Linked DNA regions of Homo sapiens: region 1 is linked to region 2. Evidence: promoter capture Hi-C in human tissues and cell types (Jung and others, 2019). All regions are on one chromosome and are shown on one strand. Each heading gives the region's core, a stretch centred on a gene start or on the middle of the fragment in contact. The rest is flanking DNA. Distances are from core to core; before and after follow the strand shown.

Region 1 (6,121 bases), core at 444-2,943, 210 kb before region 2:
GTTGCAAAGATAGTACAGAGAGTTCCCACATACTTTGCATCCAATTTCCCCTAATGTTAATATCCTACATTACTGTGATACATTTGTGACAACCAAGGAACCAACATTGGTACCTTACTATTATTATTACTATTATTTTTTTTTTCTTTTGAGACAAAGTTTTGCTAGGTCACCCAGGCTGGAGTGCAGTGGCTCCATGGCTCACTGCAACCTCTGCCTTCTGGGTTCCAGCAATTCTCCTGCCTCAGCCTCCCTAGTAGCTGGAATTACAGGCATGCGCTACTATGCCTGGCTAATTTTTGTACTTTTAGTAGAGATGGGGTTTTGCCATGTTGGCCATGCTGGTCTCGAACTCCTGCCCTTAAGTGATCCACCTGCCTCGGCCTCCCAGTGTTGGGATCACAGGTGTGAGTCACTGTGCCCAGCCTGGTACATTATTATTAACTGAACTCCACTTTATTTGGTATCACTGGTTTTTCCCTTGTCCTTGTTGTACCTCAGGATCCCATCCAAGATACCATATCACATTTAGTCATCATGCCTCCTGCTCTGTGGCTGTTTTCTTAGACTTTCCTTGCATTAGAGGACTGTCTTAGCTTGCGAGGCTGTAACAAAGTACCACAGGCTAGTGACTCACGAACAACACAAGCCACAGTCCTGGAGGCTGGAAGTCTGGGATCAGGGTGCCAGCATGGTCAGATTCTGGTGCAGACCCTCTTTCTGGTTGCATGCTACCGACTTCTAGATGTATTCTCACATGGTGAAAAGAGTGTGAGAGAGTTCCCTTTTTAAAAAAAATTTAATAATAATTATTTTTTTGAGACAGAGTCTGTCTCTGTTGCCCAAGCTGGAGTGCAGTGGCACAATCTTGGCTCACTGCAGCCTCCGCCTCCTGGGTGCACTTCATCCTCCCACCTCCACCTCAGCCTCCCAGGCTCAATTCATCCTCCCAAGTAGCTGGGACTACAGGTGCACACTACAACACCCAGATAATTTTTGTATTTTTTGTAGAGATGGGGTTTTACCATGTTGCCCAGACTGGTCTTGAACACCTGAGCTCAAGCTATCTGCCTGCCTTGGCATCCCAAAGTGTTGGGATTATAGGTATCAGCCACTATACTCTGCCTAGGTTCCCTTTATTTTTTATTTTTTTGAGACAGAGTCTCACTCCATCGCCCAGGCTGGAGTGCAGTGGCATGATCTCAGCTCACTGCAACCTCTGCCTGCTGGGTTCAAGCTATTCTCCTGCCTCAGCCTCCTGAGTAGCTGGGATTACAGGCATGCACCACCATGCCCGGCTAATTTTGTATTTTTAGTAGAGACGGGGTTTCACCATATTGACTAGGCTGGTCTCGAACTCCTGATTTCAGGTGATTCACCCACCTCGGCCTCCCAGAGTGCTGGGATTACAGGCATGAGCCACTGCTCAGCCCCTGGGTTCCCTTTTTTAAAGGCACTAATCCCACCGTGAGGGGTCCCCTCATGGCCTAATCACCTCCCAAAGGCCCCACCTCCTAAAAGCATTACTCTAGGCATTAGAATTTTAACATGTGAATTGGGGTGGGGGGCACACATTGATTCCATTGCAATAACCTTGATAGTTTTGAGACATATGGGCAAGGTATTTTGTACAATGTCCTTAAATTTGGGTTTGTCTTGATATTTTTCCCATGGTTAAGTCAGGGTTATGAGTTTTTAGGAGAAAGACTACTGGCTCCCAGTTTTGGATTCTGATTCCATTGTACCAAAACAAATCAGAACTCTTTGGAGTAATGGGTGATTCTAGGGCTGGGGCAGGGAAAATATAAGATGAGCCTGAAGCTTCTTCTAGTGTTTGAATGTAAGGATATGCTAAAAAACAAAGGGATGGGAACATGAAGAAGGGACACAGGAACCAACTGAAAGAGCTCCCATTGACAAAAGCTGGAACAACTTGAACAATAAAATAAATAATGTAGTTTTTTGGTTTTTTGGTTTTTTTTTTTTTTTTGAGACGGAGTCTCACTCTGTTGCCCAGGCTGGAGTGCAGTGGCGTGATCTCGGCTCACTGCAACCTCCACCTCCCAGGTTCAAGGCAATTCTCCTGTCTCAGCCTCCTGAGTTGCTGGGACAACAGGCGCACACCACCACGCCCGGCTAATTTTTTTGTATTTTTAGTAGAGACGGGGTTTCACCATTTTGGTCAGGTTGGTCTCCAACTCCTGACCTCAGGTAATCCACCCACCATGGCCTCCCAAAGTGTTGGGATTACAGGCATGAGCCTCCATGCCCAGCCAAGAATGTATTTTTAACAATTAGTATTTTACTTATCACCTAAAGTATAAAACAAATATCTGTAAGTCCATATTGATATAAATAATTACATTAATAAATGAGGAAAGAGACAAAGAATAGACTGATCTCCCTTAGAGAAGAATTCCAAATAATGGTAGATTCTTCCATCTTCCAGAGGGTCCTCTATAACTTTCCCCATCTCCTTGGAGTGTGGGCTGCACTTAGTGACTTGCTTCCTAAGAGTATGGAATGGGATGACTGTGTGTGGAGGTGGTGGTGATAATCTTACAGTGGCTAAACCTGCAAATGCTACCTGAGCCAGGTGGTCGAGGCTGATGTATTAGGTGTAAATCATGTTGGCACGTGCCCTTGATAGAATTGTTATGAAAAGATTCAAACCCTGTAAAATATTTGAAAAGATTTATTCTGAGCCAAATATGAGTGACCATGGCCCGTGACACAGCCCTCAGGAAGTCCTGAGAACATGTGCCCAAGGTGGTCGGGGCACAGCTTGGTTTTATACATTTTAGAGAGGCATGAGACATCAATCAGATACATTTAAGAAATACATTGGTTGACCGGGCATGGTGGCTCACGCCTGTAATCCCAACACTTTGGAAGGCCAAGGCAGGCAGATCACTTGAGGTCAAGAGTTCCAGACCAGCCTGGCCAATATGGTGAAACTCCGTCTCTACTAAAAATACAAAAATTAGCCTGGCGTGGTGGTGCATGCCTGTAATCCCAGCTACTCGGGAGGCTGAGTCAGGAGAATCACTTGAGCGCAGAAGGTGGAGGTTGCCTGGCCCGAAGGCATTTGTTTAATTTCCTTTTGCTTCCAATGTGGCTGTTAAGAAACCTAAAGTTGGCTGGGCACGGTGGCTCACGCCTGTAATCCCAGCACTTTGAGAGGCCGAGGCAGGCAGATCACGAGGTCAGGAGATCGAGACCATCCTGGGTAACATGGTGAAACCCCATCTCTACTAAAAATACAAAAAATTAGCTGGGTGTGGTTGCGGGCGCCTGTGGTCTCAGCTACCAGGGAGGATGAGGCAGGAGAATGGCCTGAACCTGGGAGGCGGAGCTTGCAGTGAGCCGTGATTGCACCACTGCACATCAGCCTGGGCAACAGAGCGAGACTCTGTCTCAAAAAAAAAAAAAAAAAAAGCCTAAAGTTATTCTCGATTCTTTCTACGTGACTTTTTTTTTTTGAGATGGAATCTCGCTTTGTCGCCCAGGCTGGAGTGCAGTGGCGTGATCTCGGCTCACTGCAACCTCCGCCTCCCGAGTTCAAGCAATTCTCTGCCTCAGCTTCCCGAGTAGCTGGGATTACAGGCTCCCGCCACCACACCCGGCTAATTTTTTTGTGTTTTTAGTAGAGATGGGCTTTCATCATATTGGCCAGACTGGTCTTGAACTCCTGACCTCCTGATCCACCCGCTTCAGCCTCCCGAAGTGCTTGGACTAAGGCGTGAGCCACCGCGCCCGGCCTGCATGACCTGTTTTTTTTCCTCCCTCTCTGGAAGTATAGAGAATATTCTCTGGGACTGGGTGTGGTAGCTCACGCCTATAATCCCAGTACTTTGGGAGGCCGAGGTAGGAGGATCACTTGAGCCCAGGACTTTGAGACCATTCTGGGCAACATAGTGAGACCCTGTCTCTACTTAAAAAGAAAAGAGAAGAGAAGAAAAAGAATATTCTCTTGTCACCAAAATATTTTAATTTTCTTAGGACAATTTTTTTGGGGGGTCAAGTTCTACCTTTAGAACAGTGCCTTGAATAAAGTAGAGGCTCAGTAAACATTTGAGGAATGGATGGATGTTACTCTTTTGGGGCTGGCCAGATTTCTTTCTTTAGTTCTGTTCTTTTCTGTTCTATTCTGTTCTTTTCCTTTTCTTTTCTTTCTCTCTCTCTTTCTTTCTTTTTCTTTGAGTTTCTTTCTTGTTGCCCAGGCTGGAGTGCAATGGGGTGATCTTGGCTCACTGCAACCTCCGCCTCCTGGGTTCAAGTGATTCTCCTGCCTCAGCCTCTCAAGTAACTGGGGTTACAGGCATGTGCCACCACACCTGGCTAATTTTGTATTTGTAGTAGAGTCGGGGTTTCTCCATGTTTGCTAGGCTGGTCTCGAACTCCCGACCTCAGGTGATCCGCCCGCCTCGGCCTCCCAAAGTGCTGGGACTACAGGCGGGAGCCACTGCGCCTGGCCTGGGGCTGGCCAGATTTCTCGGGAAAATTTGCCTGTCTTTTTTTTGGAGGCGAAGACCTAGCTGCCCTACCAGGTCTACAAACCAAGTGGTGGCTGAGAGTTGGTCATCTCCCAGGTTCCCCCTGGTGCTGCCTAGCTCAGTTCTTCTGCAGCTCCCTGCCATGCTTGTAGTGGACATCGCAGTCGCACTTCTTAGTTTAAAGCATCCACCTAATGCAGTTGTGTGTGTGTTATGCTGAACGTTGAGGATGTGTTTTGAGGAATGCATCGTTAAGTGATTTCGTTGTGGGGGCATCAGGGAGTACATTTACACAAACCTAGGAAGTATAACCTACTGCACACCTAGGCTGTATGGTGTAGCCCATTGCTCCTAGGCTAAAAACCCATACAGTATGTGGCTGTGGTAGGCAGCTGTAACAGTGGTAAATATTTGTGCAACTAAACATATCTAAACATAGAAAAGATATAGTCAAAATAGGTGTTACAATCCTTTTTTTTTTTTTGAGACAGAGTCTCGCTCTGTTGCCCAGGCTGGAGTGCAGTGGCACAATCTCAGCTCACTGCAAGTTCCGCCTTCTGGGTTCATGCCATTCTTCTGCCTCAGCCTCCCGAGTAGCTGGGACTACAGGCACCCGCCACCATGCCCAGCTAATTTTTTTGTATTTTTAGTAGAGACAGGGTTTCATCGTGTTAGCCAGGATGGTCTTGATCTCCTGACATCGTGATCCACCAGCCTCAGCCTCCCAAAGTGCTGGGATTACGGGCATGAGCCACCATGCCTGGCCTGGTGTTATAATCTTATGGGACCACTGTCAAATATGAGGTCCCTCATTGACCAAAATGTCATTATACTGCACATGACTGTATTGTACAGAATTTGTCTATTGTAAATTTGTTAGTTTGCGTCATATCTATCAGGGAGTTAGTTAAAATTCCCAAGGCCTTCTCTTTTAGTCATTAGTGTGACAGAGTAAGTAAAATATCACTCCTGTCATAAAGGACGAATTAAAAGGACAGTTTTAGTGTGTAATGAGAACTATTTTCTGAGACAGTCTTGCTTGCTCTGTCACCTACGCTGGAGTGCAGTGGCATGATCATAGCTCACGCAGCCTTGAACTCCTGGGCTCAAGCCATCTTCCCACTTCAGCCTCTCAAGTAGTTGGGAGTACAGGCACATACTACCATGCCCATCTAATTTTTAATTTTTTAATTAAAATATTATATGTATGCATATATATGTGTATATATACATATTTCAGACAAGGTCTCACTCTGTCACCCAGGCTGAAGTGCAGTGGCACAGTCATGGCTCACTGCAGCCGTGAACTGCAGACATGCATCTTTATGCCTAGCTAATTTTTTTTCTTTCTTTTTTTTCTTTTTGAAAAGATGGGACCCCTCTATGTTGCCCAGTCTGGTCTTGAACCCCTGGGCTCAAACGATGTTTCTGCTTCAGCCTCCCAAGTAGCTGGGAGTACAAGCATGTGCCACCATGCCTAGCTAATTTTTTTTGTTTTTTTGTAGAGATGGGGTCTTGCTGTCTTGCCTAGGCTGGTCTTGAATTCCTGGGTTCAAGGGATCCTCCCACCTCATCCTCCCAAAGTGCTGGGGTTACACACATCAGCCACAGTGTCCAGCATAAGA
Region 2 (6,270 bases), core at 29-2,528:
AAGAGGAAGAAGGGGGATCTAATCTAAATGTCCTTGGGTGCAGCATAGCAGAATGGCAATATTCAAGTAGAGAATGCAGGGAAACTGCACTTTCCTGTGAAATGTGATTTTCAACGTAGTATTGTAGGTTAAAAAAATGACTGTGTTACTTTACTATAAACGTGTTTGAGAATTTTACTTACGATATAGGCGCTCAGAAAACCAATACCTCTCCAACTGGGTACAACCAGTCCCACATTTTTTCATAAGTCATGATGCTTACCTCCCAAAAAGCCAATTTTTAAAAATCAGAATTCAGCATCCCCTCCTATTCAGATTATAGGTAAAGGGAAGGGTCGGTAGGACGATGGCAAATCTAATGGCCAATGTCTTTCTAGGCGAAAGCATCCTTAAGGGCAGGACAAAGACACCACCACTACAAACGAACCTCGTTCAACCTTCAGAACACGGAGAACAAACCAGTTAAAGCAAAACGAACCAACATTGCAGATACGGGAAAAGGGAATTCCTAAGATGGCTCTCCAAATCCGTGCACTCGGCACCTTTCCTCAGTACAACCGCGAAGGCTACGGGAATGCGCCTGCAGAGTGTGGGAACTCCGGGCGCGGGTGCCCACCCCGCCGACTCCCAGGGCGACCCCAGAACGTTCGTTTCAGGCGGGTCACAGCTGCGCCACCCACCAGACCTGTGCCCCAGCGTCCGACCGCGCACCTGAGAGGACCGAGGAGATGACCGGCCCCAAATGCATCTGCTTCTCCCCGCGGCCGCGGAGGCCGAGCAGGAAGGGCCCGCAGGCGGCCCCGGCCCCGCGCTGACAGCCCGGCGCCGCCCCCACCTGCCCGCCTGGGGGGCGCCGCGGCCGGGCGCGCCCGCCCAGCCACTTCCTTCCCCGCCCGCCCGGCCTCGCACCGGCCCGCGGGGGCTGGGAGCCGCGGGAGGAAGGAGGTTTGGCCAGCGGCCCGCGGAGGAAGCCGCCGCCACCTCCCGCCCGCCCTCACCCACCGGCATCATCGCGGGGAGAGTCCGCGACGCCCTCGGCCGCCGCCTGACAGGACGCTCCGCGCCGAGCTGTGCCCACCGCTCCGGCCGCCTCCTAAGGCCGCGCTCCCGCCGCCGTGCTCTCCGGCCCGGCCGCGGCGAGGCGGCAGCTGCGGCGGGCTGCGGGGCTCTCGCTGGCCCTGTCGCGGCCGCCGGCGCGCTGCGTCGCTGTCCCGGGCACCCGGCCGCCGCCGCCGCCGCCTCAACCTCAGCCTCAGCCTCAGCCCCAGCCCGACAGCCTGCGGCCCGCCCGCCCGGCTCGCTCTTCAGCCCCCGCAGGCCCCGCCCCCAGCGCGACGCCCCGCACGGGTCCCGTAGCCCCCTCTGATTGGCCCGGTGGGAGCGGGGGCGGGGAGAGGGGCGGGGCTTCCCGGCTCCGCCCGCTACCCTCGCTCTCAGCGGCGGCCAGGTGCGTGCGCGTCCGCGCTCCCGGCGGCGGGGGAGGGGCGGACGCGCAGTGGGCACCGGTGGCCTCCCCCGCCCTTGCGTGAGCCCCGACTAGGGAAGACCGCGGACGGTGGGAGGACTGAGGCCCGACAGGGAAGGGCCGGCCCGGGTCCCGCAGCGGATCACGGCAGGGCCGGGACTCGAACCCGGGCTCCCGGGGGCCGACTGTGGGCCGGGAGCGTCCCTGCGGCGACGGCGCGCGCCCGCACTCTGACCGCGGCCTGACCCCCGGCTGCCGGCGCGCCGTGGGGCTGCGGCCCAGAGGCCAGTGGGAGGGGCGCGGGGGGCCCCCGGAGCGAGCATGTGACCCGAGGCCGCGCGCTCGGAACCAGCCCCGGCCCGACGCCCTTGGCTGGCACCTGCTTCTCCCCCACCGGCGTCTTCCGCGGCTCTCGGGGCCGCGCCCCCCGCACCAGCTCCCGAGCCTTGGCCTTCGCCCGAGCGATCTCCCGCCTAGAACCCCGCGCCCACCTGTGCCACCTGTGCCCACCTGCGCCAGCATCCCTCGAGGTCCAGCTCCAGCGTCCCCGGGGAGGGTCCGGTCCTCGTCTCCAGGGCCTGGGTCTCTCCCTGCAGTCCCGTCTCCAGAGGCGCCGCCCCCTCGGGCCTGAGCGCCGGAGTGACAGAGCCCTGGGCAGGGCCCTGAGCAGACCCTCAGTAAAGGCTGCCAGGGGGGTAGGCACCCGCTCGGGGCCCCCCACATGGTGCCATTCGCCCGGACCGCGGCGGAGAGCAGACAGGGGGACTGAGGTGCTCCCCGCGGCAGCACCGAACTCCCACGGGCATCAGAAGGCAAGGTCTGCGGATGGCCCCAGACACAGAAGGCGTAAGCCGCCCTGGGAAGCGCCGGCCCAGTGGAGAAGGCCGCCGCGAGGTCAGGGTCAGTCTGGAGCCTGTCTGGTTCTCGGAGAGGCTTCTGGCTGCTGCAGAGTGGGGGCAGAGCAAGGGAGGAGGCCAGGGAGCTCCCACCAGCCCATTCCTGGGGAGCCACCCCTGTCCCTCAGAGGCCACGGGGGCTCGTGTTTGCGAGTGTGGACTTTCCAGTTAGACAGACTTGGTTCAGCACCGCCTCCGCCACACCCTCGCCTGGGATCCTAAACAAGCCGCATCTTCTCTGCATCGTAGTGTGCTTGTCTCTGTGATGGGAGAGTGTAGGGATAATAGTGCCTGCCTCGTGTCAAGAGGCTTTTTCGGATGCGAGGGATGGAAAGCGCCCAGCACAATTTGTGGCACGTGGTAGCTGTTCCATAAATAGCATTCTGTAGTTGGGCCGTGATTAGCAAGGAGGCTTAGTGTACAGACGTCCCTGGGATTTTTAAACCTATCCACACCTGGGCATGAATGGCTAATGACACCCCTCTTCTGGGAGCAGAGTTTGGAGAGAAGAGGAGGCTCTAGATAATGAGTGATCCTAGGCTGAAAGTCAGAGACATACTTAAGTTCTAATTCTAGCTGCTCTGCTTCTGACCTCCTGTGGGGCCTTAGGCAACTTGCACTCCTTCTCTGGGCCTTGGTTTCCCCAGCTTTGACAGCTGATGTCCCTGAGTCACGAAGGGGTACTTCTGGCCCACGAAGCCTGACAAAGGACAGGTTTTGCCAAGGCTCTTCAGAGAGGTGCCCCCCGGGGTAAGGTGATCCAAATGAGCCTGCTCTTCCAGGAAGGGAAGCATTGGCACAAGGGCTCCCCTCTTGCCTGCAGGACCTGTGGGCACAGACAGTGGCAGCTACCGTGCCTCACACCAAAGCATCCTATATCCTCCAGGTAAGGGTCCATTTGAGGCAGGCTGGTCAGCTCCCCCTCAAGTCCTTCCCGCTGGTCCCCATCCTCCTCTCCACCCAGCCTGCCACCTCCAGGCATCGGCCCATCACCTCCCACCTGGACCAAGCTCATTCATTATAAGCCCACTGCTCTAGCCTCCACGCCCCCACCATTCCCAACACGCCCCTGCCCTCCATCTTCCTGGAGCACACACGGCCCAACCCTGTAAAGCCCTTCTGTGTCTCTCCATTACACAGACCAAAGTTCACGAGCAGCCCATCAGGAATCGCCGTGAATGTTGTTAATGTGCAGTGGCTCACGCCTGTAATTCTACCACTTTGGGGGGCCAAGATGGGAGGATTGCTTGAGGCCAGGCCAGGAGTTCGAGACCGGCCTGGTCAACACAATGAGATCCCCCCATCTCTAAAAAAAAAAAAAAAAAAAAAGGAATCACCAGTAATGATGGGATATAGGCATTAAGGTTACGGAAGAAGATGTCCATATTTTTTAGAGATGCATCCTAGCATATGTAAGGGGTCTGCAATTTGTTTAAAAACAATTCAGCCAGAGGGAAAGAGAGCCAAGCAATTAGGAATAACTGAAACATACGTGGCAAATTCTTGATAACATTTGAACCTGGATGGTGGGTATGTTGGGGTGCATTGTACTTTATACTCTATGTTTGAAATATTTTATGTTAAAAATGATTAAAGGGGCCGGGCGCGGTGGCTCACACCTGTACTCCCAGCACTTTGGGAGGCCGAGGCGGGTGGATCACGAGGTCAAGAGATCAAGACCATCCTGGCCAACATGGTGAAACCCTGTCTCTACTAAAAATACAAAAATTAACCGGCCGTGGTGGCGAGTGCCTGTAGTCCCAACTACTTGGGAGGCTGAGGCAGGAGAATCACTTGAACCCGGCAGGCAGAGATTGCAGTGAGCCGAGATTGTGCCACTGCACTCCAGCCCGGCAACAGAGTGAGACTCCGTCTCAAAAAAAAAAAAATGATTAAAGGGGCTGGGCACGGTGGCTCTGCTTGAAATCCCAGCACTTTGGGAGGCCAAGGTGGGTGGATCACTTGAGGTCAAGAGTTCAAGACCAACCTTGCCAACACGGTGAAACCCCGTCTCTACTAAAATACAAAATTAACTAGGCGTGGTGGCATACGCCTGTAATCCCAGCTACTCGGGAGGCTGAGGCTGGAGAATCACTTAACCCAGGAGGCAGAGGTTGCAGTGAGCCGAGATTGCGGCACTGCACTCCAGCCTGGGAGACAGAGCAAGACTCCATCTCAAAATAAATAAATAAATAAATAAATAAATAAAAGCAAGGCATGGTGGTGCTCACTTGTAGTCCCGGCTCCTCAGGAGGCTGAGGCAACAGGTTCACTTGAGCCCGGGAGATGGAAGCTGCAGTGAGCCAAGATCACGCCACTGCACTCTAGCCTGGGCAACATAGACCCTGCCTCAGGAAAAAAAAAAATAAAGATTAAAGGCTGTAGATTAAAGGCTGGGCATGGCTGGGCATGGTGGCTTAAGCCTGTGATCCCAGCACTTGGGAGGCCAAGGCGGGCGGATCACCTGAGGTAAGGAGTTTGAGATCAGCCTAGCCAACATGCTGAAACCCTGTCTGTACCGAAAATACAAAAATTAGGCCAGGTGCAGTGGCTCACGCCTGTAATCCCAGCACTTTGGGAGGCTGAGGCAGGCAGATTGCTTGAGGTCAGGAGTTCGAGACCAGCCTGACCAACCAGTCTCTAGTAAAATACAAAGTTAGCCAGGCGTGGTGGCACACGCCTATAATCCCAGCTACTCGGGAGGCTGAGGCAGGAGAATTGCTTGAACCCGGGAGGCAGAGGTTGCAGTGAGCTGAGATCGCGCCACTGCACTCCAGTCTGGGCAACGGAGTAAGACTCTGTATCAAAAAAAAAAAAAAGTTATCTGAGCATGATGGTGGGCGCCTCTAATTCCAGCTTATCGGGACGCTGAGGCAGGAGAATCTCTTGAACCCTGGAGGCGGAGGTTGCAGTAGTTGAGTTTGCCCCACTGCACCCCAGCCTTGGTGACAGCAAGACTCTGTCTCAAAATAAAAAAATAAAAGGCTGAGCATGGTGGCTCATGCCTGTAATCCCAGCATTTTGGGAGGCCAAGACAGGAGGATTGCTTGAGCCCAGGAGTTCGAGACCAACCTGGGCAACATAGCAAGACCCCCCCCCATCTCTATTTTAATTTAAAAAAATTAAAAATGATTAAATACTCTTAAAACAGATAAAAAGTCCCTTTAGGGAGGACATTAGTATATATTCATATTGGCATAAATACATTCTGGAAGAATCCAGGGAACACTAATAAAGTGATGACTGCACGTGGGAATGGGAACTGGGTTGATAAGGGGCAGAAATCAGAGTGAGGCTTTTCACTATTAGTTTTTGAAAAATAAACTTTATTTTTAGAACAGTTTTATAGAAAAATTGCAAAGAGTTTGAAATACAGAGAGTTCCCAGATACCCCTTTCTCCATCCAGTTTTCCCCATTTTTTAACATCTTACATCAGTACAGTACATCTGTTACAACAAATGAACCATTATCTATACGTTAGTATCAACTCGGGTCCATACTTTTCCCAGATTTCCTTAGTTTTTAGCCAGTGCCTTTGTTTCAGGACATCACGTGGCGTTCAGTCGTCATGTCTCCTTGTCTCCTTAGACTCCTCTTGGCTGTGACAGTCTCGGCTTTCCTTGTTTTTTTTTTTTGTTGTTGTTGTTTTGTTTTTTTGTTTTTTTTTTTTTGAGACAGAATTTTGTTCTCACTGCCCAGACTGGAGTGCAATGGCGCGATCTCGGCTCACCGCAACCTCTGCCTCCCGGGTTCAAGTGATTCTCCTGCCTCAGCCTCCCGAGTAGCTGGGACTACAGGCACCCGCCGCCACGCCTGGCTAACTTTTGCATTTTTAGTAGAGACGGGGTTTCTCCATGTTGGTCAGGTTGGTCTCGAACTTCCGACCTCAGGTCATCCGCCTGCCTCAG

What was found. Contacts are between HindIII fragments. The study calls those that stand out against the background at their distance.
Region 1: a contact is called between a fragment that was not itself captured here and the fragment with the promoter of PPP1R13B in region 2, in 1 of the 25 tissues and cell types used here (heart right ventricle).

What each region holds. Positions count from the first base shown.
Region 1 is chr14:103,640,796-103,646,916 of GRCh38, forward strand. All of the region lies in intron 1 of KLC1 (kinesin light chain 1), which reads left to right. Among named protein-coding and RNA genes, the nearest start is that of KLC1, 15 kb to the left of the region's middle. RefSeq lists a silencer at 3,377-3,426. The HindIII fragment of the contact is 7,416 bases long and covers 1-5,401 here.
Region 2 is chr14:103,846,297-103,852,566 of GRCh38, forward strand. PPP1R13B (protein phosphatase 1 regulatory subunit 13B) reads right to left here and starts at 1,279. Exons shown (of 17, transcript NM_015316.3): 1 at 1,003-1,279. The coding sequence starts at 1,011. PPP1R13B-DT (PPP1R13B divergent transcript) reads left to right here and starts at 1,425. Exons shown (of 3, transcript NR_038436.1): 1 at 1,425-1,447. RefSeq lists silencers at 789-988, 1,159-1,598, 1,619-1,748, 1,769-1,838. The HindIII fragment of the contact is 22,900 bases long and covers 1-6,270 here.